Regions from separate parts of the Homo sapiens genome. Here region 1 is linked to region 2. Evidence: promoter capture Hi-C in 16 types of primary human blood cells and fetal thymus (Javierre and others, 2016). All regions are on one chromosome and are shown on one strand. The core of a region is centred on a gene start or on the middle of the fragment in contact, and the rest is flanking DNA. Distances in the headings are between cores, read along the strand shown.

What was found. Contacts are between HindIII fragments. The CHiCAGO score rates a contact against its expected background, and 5 or more counts as called.
Region 1: a fragment that was not itself captured here is called in contact with the fragment with the promoter of GABRR2 in region 2 in 1 of 17 cell types (neutrophils); the score reaches 5.0 in neutrophils.

The regions. Positions count from the first base shown.
Region 1 is chr6:89,022,065-89,028,191 of GRCh38, forward strand. No RefSeq gene overlaps it. Among named protein-coding and RNA genes, the nearest start is that of PNRC1-DT, 55 kb to the right of the region's middle. RefSeq lists an enhancer at 1-109. The HindIII fragment of the contact is 6,199 bases long and covers 1,779-6,127 here.
Region 2 is chr6:89,313,043-89,318,766 of GRCh38, forward strand. It overlaps GABRR2 (gamma-aminobutyric acid type A receptor subunit rho2), which reads right to left and starts at 2,257. Exons shown (of 9, transcript NM_002043.5): 1 at 2,011-2,257. The coding sequence starts at 2,123. The HindIII fragment of the contact is 14,907 bases long and covers 1-2,809 here.

The sequences.
Region 1 (6,127 bases), core at 3,628-6,127, 290 kb before region 2:
CCTGGGAAATAGATGTATTCATGTCATTCATCTACACTACTTTAGAGAGTTCATTTGTCCATATGTCTGCTAAATATCTGTGGACCATAGGTTAAGGACCTCTCTTGCAGAAACAATGCATCATTGAAGGGTTTTAAGAAAGGAAGTAGCCAGTCACTGCAGAAGTGTGGTGGAAGATGGATTTGGAAGTTGAGACTAAAGGCAAGAATACCATCCATGAGAACACAGCAAAAGTCTGAAGGTCAAATTGACAAGAGCCTGAACTAAAGCAGCGTACATGGAAAAGGAGAGGAGGTGACGACTAGAGAGAAAGCTTATGTAGGTCTTTGTGATGGAGTGTGTGGAGGGTGGGAGAAGACAGCCTGAGGGAGAGGATGGGGTTCAGGAATCCTCCTTTGTCTTCACTCACCATGGTTGAAGCTGTGGACTGCCAGTAGAGTAAGCTCTAACCTACATAAAGTTTAGGTCTCCACCATGCCATCTCCCCACAAGTACAGCAACCGCAAATTTCTAATCTGGTGAATGTGTATGATCAATAATGTTAAACAATGAAAATAACCACAGAATCAATTTATTAAAAGTTCTGGTCCTCTGGAAGTACCCTCTGTAATAAATCTCCTGTGCCAACTTTTTTTTTAAAAAAAGCAAGACTAGGAACAATTTCTCAGAAAGTATCATTTTGTATTACAACAGAAATCTATTCTTTTCATAATATTAGTTGAAGTAGCCACCTAGAAACAATCAATTTTAGCAGAACATAGAGTACTTCTACAAAGATTTATCACCAATATAGATTTCCTTTTTTAACTTAATGACTCACCAGCAAAAACCTTTAAAACTGGAAGGCTCTGTGCTTTGTGAGATTGCCAAAGTTAGTCACTGATTTATTCCCCTAAGTGTAATTTGGAAGAACCTGCTATGTAAATCTGAATACTGTAAACCATGCACCATGAATCTTTTAAAATCTAGTTTTCCTATTAATGGTGCCTAAATGCTTAAGAGCAGACTCACAAATTAGGAGGGGGAAGGGAGCCCTCTGGGACCTTTTCTGTGAGAAACTTTTGTGCTACAATTTCTACTGAACCTGCATTTGGAGGATCAGCAGCAGATTCAGCAGGAATGGAAGCAGAGAACTGGGTCCTTTGGCAGACAGACCTAACTTTCCAACCACAATAAAGACTGATGTCTTAAGGTTGGATAAATACTCCTGAAATTATTGAGTTTATCACAGAAAAGGGACCCTGAAAAGAAAAGTCATTCTTGAGTTAAAGCTACAAACAACTGTGAATTGTAATAAGTGTTCTAAAGGAAATGTGCACAGTACTATGATCATGTCTTTTTTCCTGTGAAAATGTCTGCAATGGGATTGACTTGGTCTAGGAGTGTTAGAGGAGTTTTCTTGTTTTTTTTTTTCCAGGCAGGGTCTGGCTCTAGCACCCAGGCTGGAGTGCAGTGGTGTGATTTCGGCTCGCTGCAGCCTCCAACTCCGGAGCTCAATCAATCCTCCCACCTCAGCCTCCTGAGTAGCTGGGATTACCAGTGCATGCCACCATGCCCAGCTAGTTTTGTATGTTTTGTAGAGACGGGGTCTTTCCATGTTGCCCAGGCTGGTCTTGAACTCCTGGACTCAAGAGATCCTCCCACCTTGGCCTCCCAAAGTGCTGGGATTACACGTGTGAGCCACTGTGCCCGGCCAGAGGAGTTTTCTTGAAGTGACTCTTTCCCTTATCTAATATTGCACAACAAACTACCCTAAAACATAATAGCACAAAGTAACAAGCTTAAAGAAGACAAAAGAGATATAGAGAGGAACCACTTTATTTGCACACAATTTTGTAATTCGGGCTGGGCTCAGATGGTCAGTTTCTCTGGTCTTGTCAGTGGTCACTCAGGAGGCTGCATCCAGCTGGCACTTAGGCTAGGCCACAGCTGGGATTCTCTCATGTAATCTTTCCATTTGGTCTCTCCAGCAGGATAATCAGACCTTTAATATGTTGGCTCAAGCCTTCCAAGAGCACAAAAATAGAAGCTGCCAGCCTTTCCTAAGGCTTAGGCTTGGAACTGACACAGCATCATATCTGCTGAATTCCACTGGTTAAATCAGTCCACCCAGAGTTCAGGAGAGGGGACTATCACACAAGGGCATGAATACTGGAAGATGGAATTCATCAGGGGCCACCTTGTAACAAGCTATTAGAATGACCTTAGGCAGCAACCTGGAAGATGAGTAAGAGTTAACTGGGCAAAGAGGGAGGAAGAATGTTCCAGGCAGGGCAGTAGTATATGCAAAGCAGTTATGGCAGAGGATCCCCAGGCATTTCTAAGTGACTGAAAGAAAGCCAAGTTTGCTGGAGCACAGAGATCAAGGGAACAGTGGGTACAGGCAGGAAGGGGCCAGACCATGTGGTGCCACCGCATTCTTTAGGAAACTTTCAAATGCAAGTGGTAGAATCCCAATGCAAACCAACTCAAGCAAAAATATAAACAAACCAAAACAAGATAAACAAAAATAAAAAGAGAAAGAGAATTTATGCACTTATATTCCTGGAAAGTCCAGGGCCCAGTGGGTTGACTTCAAGTATGGCTATATCCAGGGCTTCAAATGACATCACCAGGAATTTGTCTCCCTCCATCTCTCTCCCTTTTATTTTTAGATGGAGTCTCATTCTGTCACCCAGGCTGGAGTGCAGTGGTAGTATGATCTTGGCTCACTGCAACCTCTGCCTCCCAAGTTCAAGAGATTCTCCTGCCTCAGCCTCCCGAGTAACTGGGATTATAAGACCCCACCACTACACCCAGCTAATTTTTTTTTTTCTTTTGAGACAGTCTTGCTCTGTTGCCAGGCTGGAGTGCAGTGGCGTGATCTCAGCTCACTGCAATCTCTGCCTCCCGGGTTCAAGCAATTCTCGTGCCTCAGCCTGCCGAGTAGCTGGGACTATACAGGCACCCGCTACCACACCCGGCTAATTTTTGTATTTTCAGTAGAGACGGGGTTTCACCATGTTGGCCAGGATGGTCTCAATCTCCTGACCTTGTGATCTGCCCGCCTGGGCCTCCCAAAGTGCTGGGATTACAGGCATGAGTCACTGCGCCCAGCTAATTTTTGTATTTTTTAGTAGAAACAGAGTTTTGCCATGTTGGCCAGGCTAGTCTCGAACTTCTGACCTCAGGTGATCCACCCGCCTCGGCCTCCCAAAGTGCTGGGATTACAGGTGTGAGCCACCACACCCAGCCTCTTTTATATTTTGAATTTTTTTTTTTTTTTTTTTTTGAGACAGGGTCTCTTTCTGTTGCCCAGGCTGGAGTAGAGTGGCAAGATCACTGCAGCCTCTAACTCCTGGGCTCAAATGACCCACCTCAGCCTCTCGAATAATTGGGACTGCAGGTGCATGCCACCATACCAGACTAATATTTTATTTTTTGTAGAGACAGGGTCTCGTATGCTGCTGAGCCTGGTTTCAACTCCTGAGCTCAAACAATCCTCCCACTTTGGCCTCCCAAAGCACTGGGATTACAGCCATTGAACCACCACACCCGGCAGTCTCACCTTTCTAAAATCCTTTAGAGATTCCCCATTGTCTACAGGAACCCTTCTCCCAGGAGTCCATCACCATCCAGCCCTTGTCTCCCTTCCCAACTTTGTCTTCCCTTCTTCCTCCCATCACTTCCTCACCCCAGTTATACCTCAAAGGCTCCGTGCTCTTCCAGCTTCTAGGCCTTTTAATATACTGCTTCCTTGTCCTGGCATGCCCTTCTCCTTCAGTTTTCCTTTTATCAGTACAGCATAGTAATTGGGTCACACCTTCTTTCAAATCCTGACTCCTCTGTTTGCTAGCCAGGATGTTAAGCAAGTAACTTAACCTCTTGAGCTTTATTTTCCGCTCCTGGAAAATGGAGATAATAACAACCACGACCTCTGAGACCTAATGTAAAGATTGTTTTGTTTTTGAGACAGGGTCTCACTCTGTTGCCCAGGCTGGAGTGCCGTGGCACCATTACAGCTCACTGCAGCCTCAGTCTCCCCAGACTTAGGTGATCATCCCACCTCAGCGTCCCGAGTAGCTGGGACTACAGGCATGCACCACCACACCTGGCTAATTTTTGTACTTTCTTTTTGGAGACTGACTTTCGCCATGTTGCCCAGGGTGGTCTTGAACTCCTAGGCTTGAGGGATCCTCCCGCCTTGGCCTCCCAAAGTGCTGGGATCCAGGCATGAGCCACCACACCCAGCCTAGTATAAAAACTGAATGAGAAAGCAAATGTAAAACCCTTAGTGAAATGCCTGGCATAAAGGAAAGGCCCACTTAATGCCAGCTATCGCTGCACTCAAAATTCAAGTGTCGTGTTAAGTCATTGCTCTCTTGACTTCTATGGTTGGCTGAATGATAGCTCCCCAAAGAGGTTCACATCCTGATCCCTGGAGCCTGTTTATATGTTATTTTACATGGTAAAAGGACTTTGCAGATGTGATTAAGTTATCTTAAGATAGGCGAGTACCCTGGATTATCAAGGTGGGTCTGATGTAATCATAAGGGGTCCTTGTAAAAGGAAGGCAGGAGGTGAAAGAGAGGAGGAGGTGATGTGATGATGGTAGCAGAGGTGGGAGTGATGCAGCCACGTGCCAAAGAATGCCAGCCACTTCTAGAAGCTGGGAGGAAGGATTCTCCCCTGGAGCCTTCAGAAGGAACTGGCTCTGTCAGTGCCTTGATTTTAGCCCTTAAGACTCATTTCTAACTTCTGACCTCCAGAACTGTAAGAGAATAAATTTGTGTTGAATGAAGCCACAAAATTTGTGGTAATTTTTTACAGCAATAATAGAAATGAATATAACTTCCTAGAGATGGGTTGAACCCATAGCATTTACATGCAGATAGATAATTTTTCATTCATTTTTCTCACCCGTTAGGTGTGTGTGTGTTTTTAATTTTTAATTTATTTATTATTTTCTTTTTTAGTACAGAATCATCTGCTCTAAAATTTTTTTAATTTTTTTAATTTTTTTTTTTTTGAGACGGAGTCTCTCTCTGTTGCCCAGGCTGGAGTGCAGTGGTGCAATCACAGCTCACTGCACCCAGTGAACTGCCAAGAACTGCTGCTTCTTATTAATGTTTGAAACCACCTTGACCTCTTGGGTTCAAGGGATCTTTCTGCCTCAGCCTCCTGAGTAGCTGGGACTACAGGCATGTGCCACCACGCCTGGCTGATTTTTGTATTTTTTGTAGAAACAGGGTCTAGCCATGTTGCTCAGGCTGGTCTCGAACTCCAGGGCTCAAATGGTCCTCCTACCTCAGCCTCCCAAAGTTCGGGGATTACAGACGTGAGCTACCACGCCCAGCCAGGCTGTGTGTTAAGAGCTGCTGCTCTTTTTTGTTTTTTTAACTCCCCTCCTTTTTTTTTTTTTTTTTTTTTTTTTTGACAGGATCTCCTTCTAGACCCCAGGCTGGAGTGCAGTGGCATGATCTCAGCTCACTGCAACCTCTGCCTCCCAGGTTCAAGCAATCTTCCTGTCTCAGCCTCCTGAATAGCTGGGACTACAGGCATGTGCCACCATGCCTGGCTAATTTTTGTAATTTTTTGTAGAGACAGGGTCTCACTATGGTACCCAGGCTGGTCCTGAATTCCTGAGCTCAATCAATCCCCCCACCTTGACCTCCCAAAGCTCTGGGATTACAGGTGTGAGCTACCATGCCCCACCAAGAGCTGTTGCTTTTTATTAATATTTGAAACCACCTCCTATTTCCACCTCCACATACCTAGCACAATGCCTGGCATCTTCTCAAACTCCAATAAATATTTAATGAAGGTAAGTTTATGATCTCAAGTGTGATTTCTGTTTGGATTCGGTTCATGTAAAAAAGGAGGAACCAGCCGTGAATTCTCAAATAAGTTTCAGTCTGTGGCAAGCACAGATCTGGGAGATGCATCAAGGGAAACAACTGAAAACTTGTCTGGAGATTATTGTAAAAAAAAGAGAGAGAGAGAAGTGACTACAACTGAAAGAGTACCTGGCCCTGGAATCTTTTATATGATGAAAATTTTATGGGGTTCTAGTCTCTGCTTCTTGAAGATACAGTGGAGCTAGAAAAGATCCAGAGGACACCAAAGATGATTAAGGGCAGAAGGAATC
Region 2 (5,724 bases), core at 1,007-3,506:
TGTGCTGAACCCCAGTTCTTACAGAATAGACAGTTTTGAACAGATTTTCCTCCAGTCTAAGTAAATCAGGAACCTACATTCTAGTGTTGGGAAGCCACTAGCAGGCCGTGTGACTTACTCATGCCCCTGAGCCATTTCAGCATCTGTCAAATGAGTTGACTTGGACAGTTTCCCAGTGTGTGCTCCATGGAGTAGGAATCCCACAAGACAGTCCAAAAAACTGTGGATTTTTTAGTTGTTTCTGAGAAGCCCTGCATAATTTATCCCTCTCTTCAAGATTCTCACAGTGCCTATTTGCATAACAAAGGTTCTAAAAGTTCTGCTGTAGAGACATCTGTTGAAAATGGTCTAAACCAGGGTTTTCCACGTTTTGGTGGCCCTGGAACCCCATTTCACTCAACAGCCATTCACGTTTCCCAAAATTAGAGTTCAGGGGACTTGCTGGGCCGATGACATCTGAGGCTCCTTCCAGTTTAACAGCCTATGGTTCTGGCAACCCAACCCGCATGGGTTGTTCAGAGCAGGGCCTCTGAGGGTTTTGATCTGTTTGCCTTCCGCTGAGTAGGACTAGGCTCCAGAGAGAGTAATTATAGGCTGGGTGTGGTGGCTTCTGCCTGTAATCCTAGCACTTTGGGAGGCCAAGGTGGGTGGATCACTTGAGGTCAGAAGTTTGAGACCAGCCTGGCCAACATGGTGAAACCCTGTCTCTACTAAAAATACAAAAATTAGCCAGGCATGCTGGTGCACGCCTGTAATCCCAGCTACTCGGGAGGCTGAGGCAGGAGAATCGCTTGAACCCGGGAGGTGGAGGTTGCAGTGAGCCAAGATTGCGCCACTGCACTCCAGCCTGGGTGACAGAGAGTCCATCTCAAAAAACAAACAAACAAATAAACAAAAGAGAGTAATAACCTCTCCCAGAGCAGCAGTTGCCACTGGGATACTGGAAGTAGAGGCTGTAACTCTTATTTATATTCAGGGTTTTTTTTTTTTTTTTCTAAAAATAAGAAATCAATTAAACTTTAACATACATATTTATAACAGCACATGTATGTGATTTGTAAGTAAATATGCATGTATTAGAGGTACAGTTTCAAAAACTTGTCATTGACAGCAGCGCATGTTCAAAAATGTTTGGGGACTGACCTAGAAAATGTGCCTCAAGATATTAATTTATATTCAAAACCACTAGTTTATCTGATGCTTAGTAGAATGGAAAATAAATGTGTAACATGCCACACATGGTGTTTATATCTTAGCTGCTTGTTCTTTTCTTATCTCCATGTCTAACAGTCCTTATGTCTACTTCAGGCCTGGAGTATGATGCTTCGTATGTCAATTCAAAATAAACTTCCTAAGGAACTTAGATTTGTAATGTAATGATTTTGAATGCAGATCCTGGGCTATTATTTCTTGGGAATGTCTCCATTACATCATGAAATTGCATTCACTGTTGTTCACACATATATTTCTGATAATTAAGCAAATTTCTGAACACCTCTTCTAAGATTCAAAACAGTAAAATGAAACCCAATATCATTATAAAGTTATTCTCTGGCAAATAATTTAAGGAAGACAACTCCCGTATGCATTTTTTTCTTAATAGTTCAGGCTAGGTTCCTATATACAGTTCTCCCCAAAATACTTGAGTGTAATTATTTAGCAGGTCATCGGTTGTAACCCTGAGAAACAAAGCAGCACAATGTGATTTGTACAGAGAATGATTTTACCCACTACGTCTCCAACTATTTATATCTGCCTCAAATCAAAATGCTTTGGCTGAACGCAGGCATCCGAAGGAAGGCTCATCCCAGTCTAGTTCTGCTCTCAATGCTTGTGACACATAGAGTATGTGTGCCCAGGGAGAGGCTGCGTTCAGTGAAGTAGCTGGGTTCTCATTCTCATAGGGCGATATCTCAATAGGACCTTAGCCCCCTGGGGAGCCATCCCACTGTGCCACTGCTGCTGCTACTATGCAGGGTAACCTCCCTCCTTTCCCACCTATGACTTTACCTTGGCTTGGGCATTTCCACCTGCCCTGTCCATCGCTTCCTCTTGGGTTTTCTGCTCTCCACGAGAACCATCAAGCAAAACAAGAACAAAATGAGTCTTGTAAAATAAGGCATTTTGTGGACATCTGTGAGGCAAAAAGCTGCTTTCCAGTAGCCTGTGGCAGAGCAAATCCCCCCTGGCTTGACCATTGATCCATCTGCTGCCTCCTGACGGGCTGCTCTGAGGGGCTGTGAGGGCAAGGCTGGCCAGGCTAGTTGTCCCGATTTACTATTTGATACTGACGCCCCACTCACCCCCTCCACTCCGGGCCATGACACAAACACCAGGCTTTGCCCTCCCTGCTGATTAGTGATTGGCCATTAGTCGAGAAGTTTGTCCTCATGAAATTCTGCTTCCACTGAATCCTAGAATAGCTTTGGCTAAAGCTGTTATATAAAAAATTAAATCTCTTGAACATGCCAGCTTTGTGCTGAGATTATTGGTCCATCTTCTGGCTGCATAAAACCAGTCTGTCCCATCCACCAGGGGGTCAGCTCGGATTCCAAGTAGATTTGCAGAGAGGACTTGGTGGACATTTAGATGGGTACATAAATGTGTTCAGGAAATGCTGAGTAAACATGAATGACCTGTTTCCTTAGGGTTGATTTATTTATGGAGCTAAGAGAATATGCTTTGCCTATGAGCAAGGATACTTCCTTTCTCACAAATATAGATCAACTTTTTCCAGTGAAAACATCAAAGCATAAAATACATTTTTAGTTTCAAGGATGACATTAATCATAGAATTCATGATTATGTAAGCTTTTCTTCCTACCATAAGCATTAAATTAACTTTGGCCTTTAACCCTAAAATGTATAAAATCAATCATAAATTAGGCTTTATTCCTATCCTGGGATATGGAATTAAGCACATTAGAATTGTAGAGATACATGTGGTTATGTCTAACCTACTGAACAAAATAGAATATGTTTAAAAACTACTCATTGCTTGCTATGTCCTGGCAATGGAAAATTTCATGGTAGAAACATAGGGAGATGAGGACAGAGATCAGGAGGTGGGATAGCCGTAAGTGAAACAGAATTGGGATTTTACTATGTATAAATGACAGAATCAAAAGAAGCTCTTTGATTCCCTTAAGCAAAGTGAGATGGCATGATCTACTTTATTTTTGAAATAATTCCTAATTGGGATCAGTCGAATCAGGGAACTTATGATGACAAAAGAGAATAAGGTCCTGCTCTGAGGGAAGCGAAGAAGGAAGAAGAGAAAGGAAGACAGAAGAGTGAGATACTCAAGTTAGTTCTGCGGTAGCATACATTTGGTGCCTGTGCAGATAGAGTAGAAGGTGAGAGACAGAAAAGTCAACAATAATATCAAGAATTCTACGGTGGCTCACACTTGTAATCCCAGCACTTTGGCAGAGGCAGGTGGATTACCTGAGGTCAGAAGTTCAAGACCAGCCTGGCCAACGTGGTGAAACCCCATTTCTACTAAAAATACAAAAATTAGCCAGGTGTGGTGGTACGTGCCTGTTAATCCCAGCTATTCAGGAGGCTGAGGCAGGAGAATCACTTGAACCTGGGAGGCAGAGGCTGCAGTGAGCCAAGATCACACCACTGCACTCCAGCCTGGGCGACAGAGCATGACTCCGTCTCCAAAAAAAAAAAAAAAAAAAAAAAAGCTAGAGCATGAGCCTGGAGTTCAGGAGAAAGTCTAGTTCTATTTCTAGACTATAGAAATAGATCTGGAGCTGTAGAGACCAAGTGAAAGTTTTCCCTTTGCCCCATGGAGGATCACCAAAAAATCAACTGACAAAAGGAAGATTAATAGGGGAAAAGGCATACAGATTTATTAACATGCATGGAGGAAAATCACATCATGATTACCCAATTACCCAGCATGGTACAGACATTTATATACCCTTTTTCATAAGGAAGAGATGGGGGATGTAGGCAATTCTTTTGAGGGACAGTAAATCATTAGGGAGGATGAATGGACCCAGGAGGAAAGTGAGGGGTGGAACTACACAGGAACTAAAGTTGTCTTATACAGATAAAGTCCAACAGGTAATCTCTTAAAGCTGCCCTCAGAAGACTAGATGAAAAGTCTATCTGGGTGCAGTGAGAACTCCCAGTCTCTTCTCTTCTCAGATGGTTGATTTTTCCTGGTTATTTTGTGAGATCCCTAGGTAGGGGGTCTTAAGTGCATTTAAACTTTCTTAGATAGGGAAATTCCAGAGAGTCCCTCCCAGTTCTTTGTGCAAGAAGAGCAGAGAGCCTGACCAATCAGTAGGTTAACAAAGAAATTCAGACAGAAATTTAAAAACTTTTTGAAATGAAAAAAAGTACAGCATACCAAAGCCTGTGGCATATAACAAAAGCAGTGCTAAGAGAGAAATTTACAGTATTCAATGCCCATATCAAAAAAGTAGAAAGATCACAAACTAACAAACTCCTATGGCACCTCAAGGAACGAGAAAAGCAGAAGAAACCAAACCCTGAGTTAGCAGAATAAAAGGAATAACAAAGATCAGAGCAGAACTAAATGAAATAGAGACCAATAAAACGATACAAAGGATCAATAAAAAAAAAAGTTGTTTTTTTGAAAAGATAAAGAAAATTGACAAACCACTAGCTAGACTAACCAAGAAAAGAAGAGAGAAGCTCCAAATAAACACAATCAGAAATGAAAAGGGAGACATTACAAATGATACCACAGAAATACAAAAGATCATCAGAGTCTGTTATGAACAGCTTTATGCTCACAAACTAGAAAACCTAGAGGAAATGAATACATTTCTGGAAACACATAATCTCCTGAGATTGAACCAGGAAGAAATAGACCTCCTGAACAGACCAATAACAAGTAGCAAGATTGAATCAGTAATAAAAAAAATCTCCCAAAAACTAAAATAGTCCAGGACCAGATGGATTTACAGACAAATTCTACCAAACATACAAAGAACTAAAACCAATCCTCCTGAAACTATTCCAAAAAATCAAGGAGGAGGGAATTCTCCCTAACTCATTCTATGGGACCAGTATCACCCTGATACCAAAACCAGACAAGGACACAACAACAACAAAAAAAACTACAGACCAATATTCCCAATGAATATAGATGCAAAAAATCCTCAACAAAATACCACAAATTGAAAACAACAGCACATCAAAAAGTTTATACACCATGATGAGGTACGATTTATCCCAAGGATACAAGGATGGTTCAACATACACAAGTCAATAAACATGATACATCACATAAACAGAATTAAGGAAAACTATGTGGTCATCTCAATAGATGCAGAGAAAGTGTTCGATAAAATTCAGCTTCCCTTCATCATAAAAATTCTCAACAAACTAGGCATAGAAGGAAGATATCTCAACATAATAAAGCTCATATATGACAAACCCACAGCCAACATCATACTTAATGGGGGAAAGTTGAAAACATTCTAAGAAGTGGAAGAAGACAAGGATGCCCACTTTCACCACTCTTATTTAATATAGTACTGGAAGTCCTCACCAGACCAATCAGGCAAGAGAAAGAAATAAAAAACTTCTAAATTGGAAAAGAGAAAGTCAAATTATCCGTGTTTGCTGATGATATGATCTTGTTTCTAGAAAACCCTAAAAACTCCACAAAATCCAACCATGGAGGATGATGAAAAATTAAAAAAGACTCCATAAAAGCCCTCTTAGATTTGATAAATG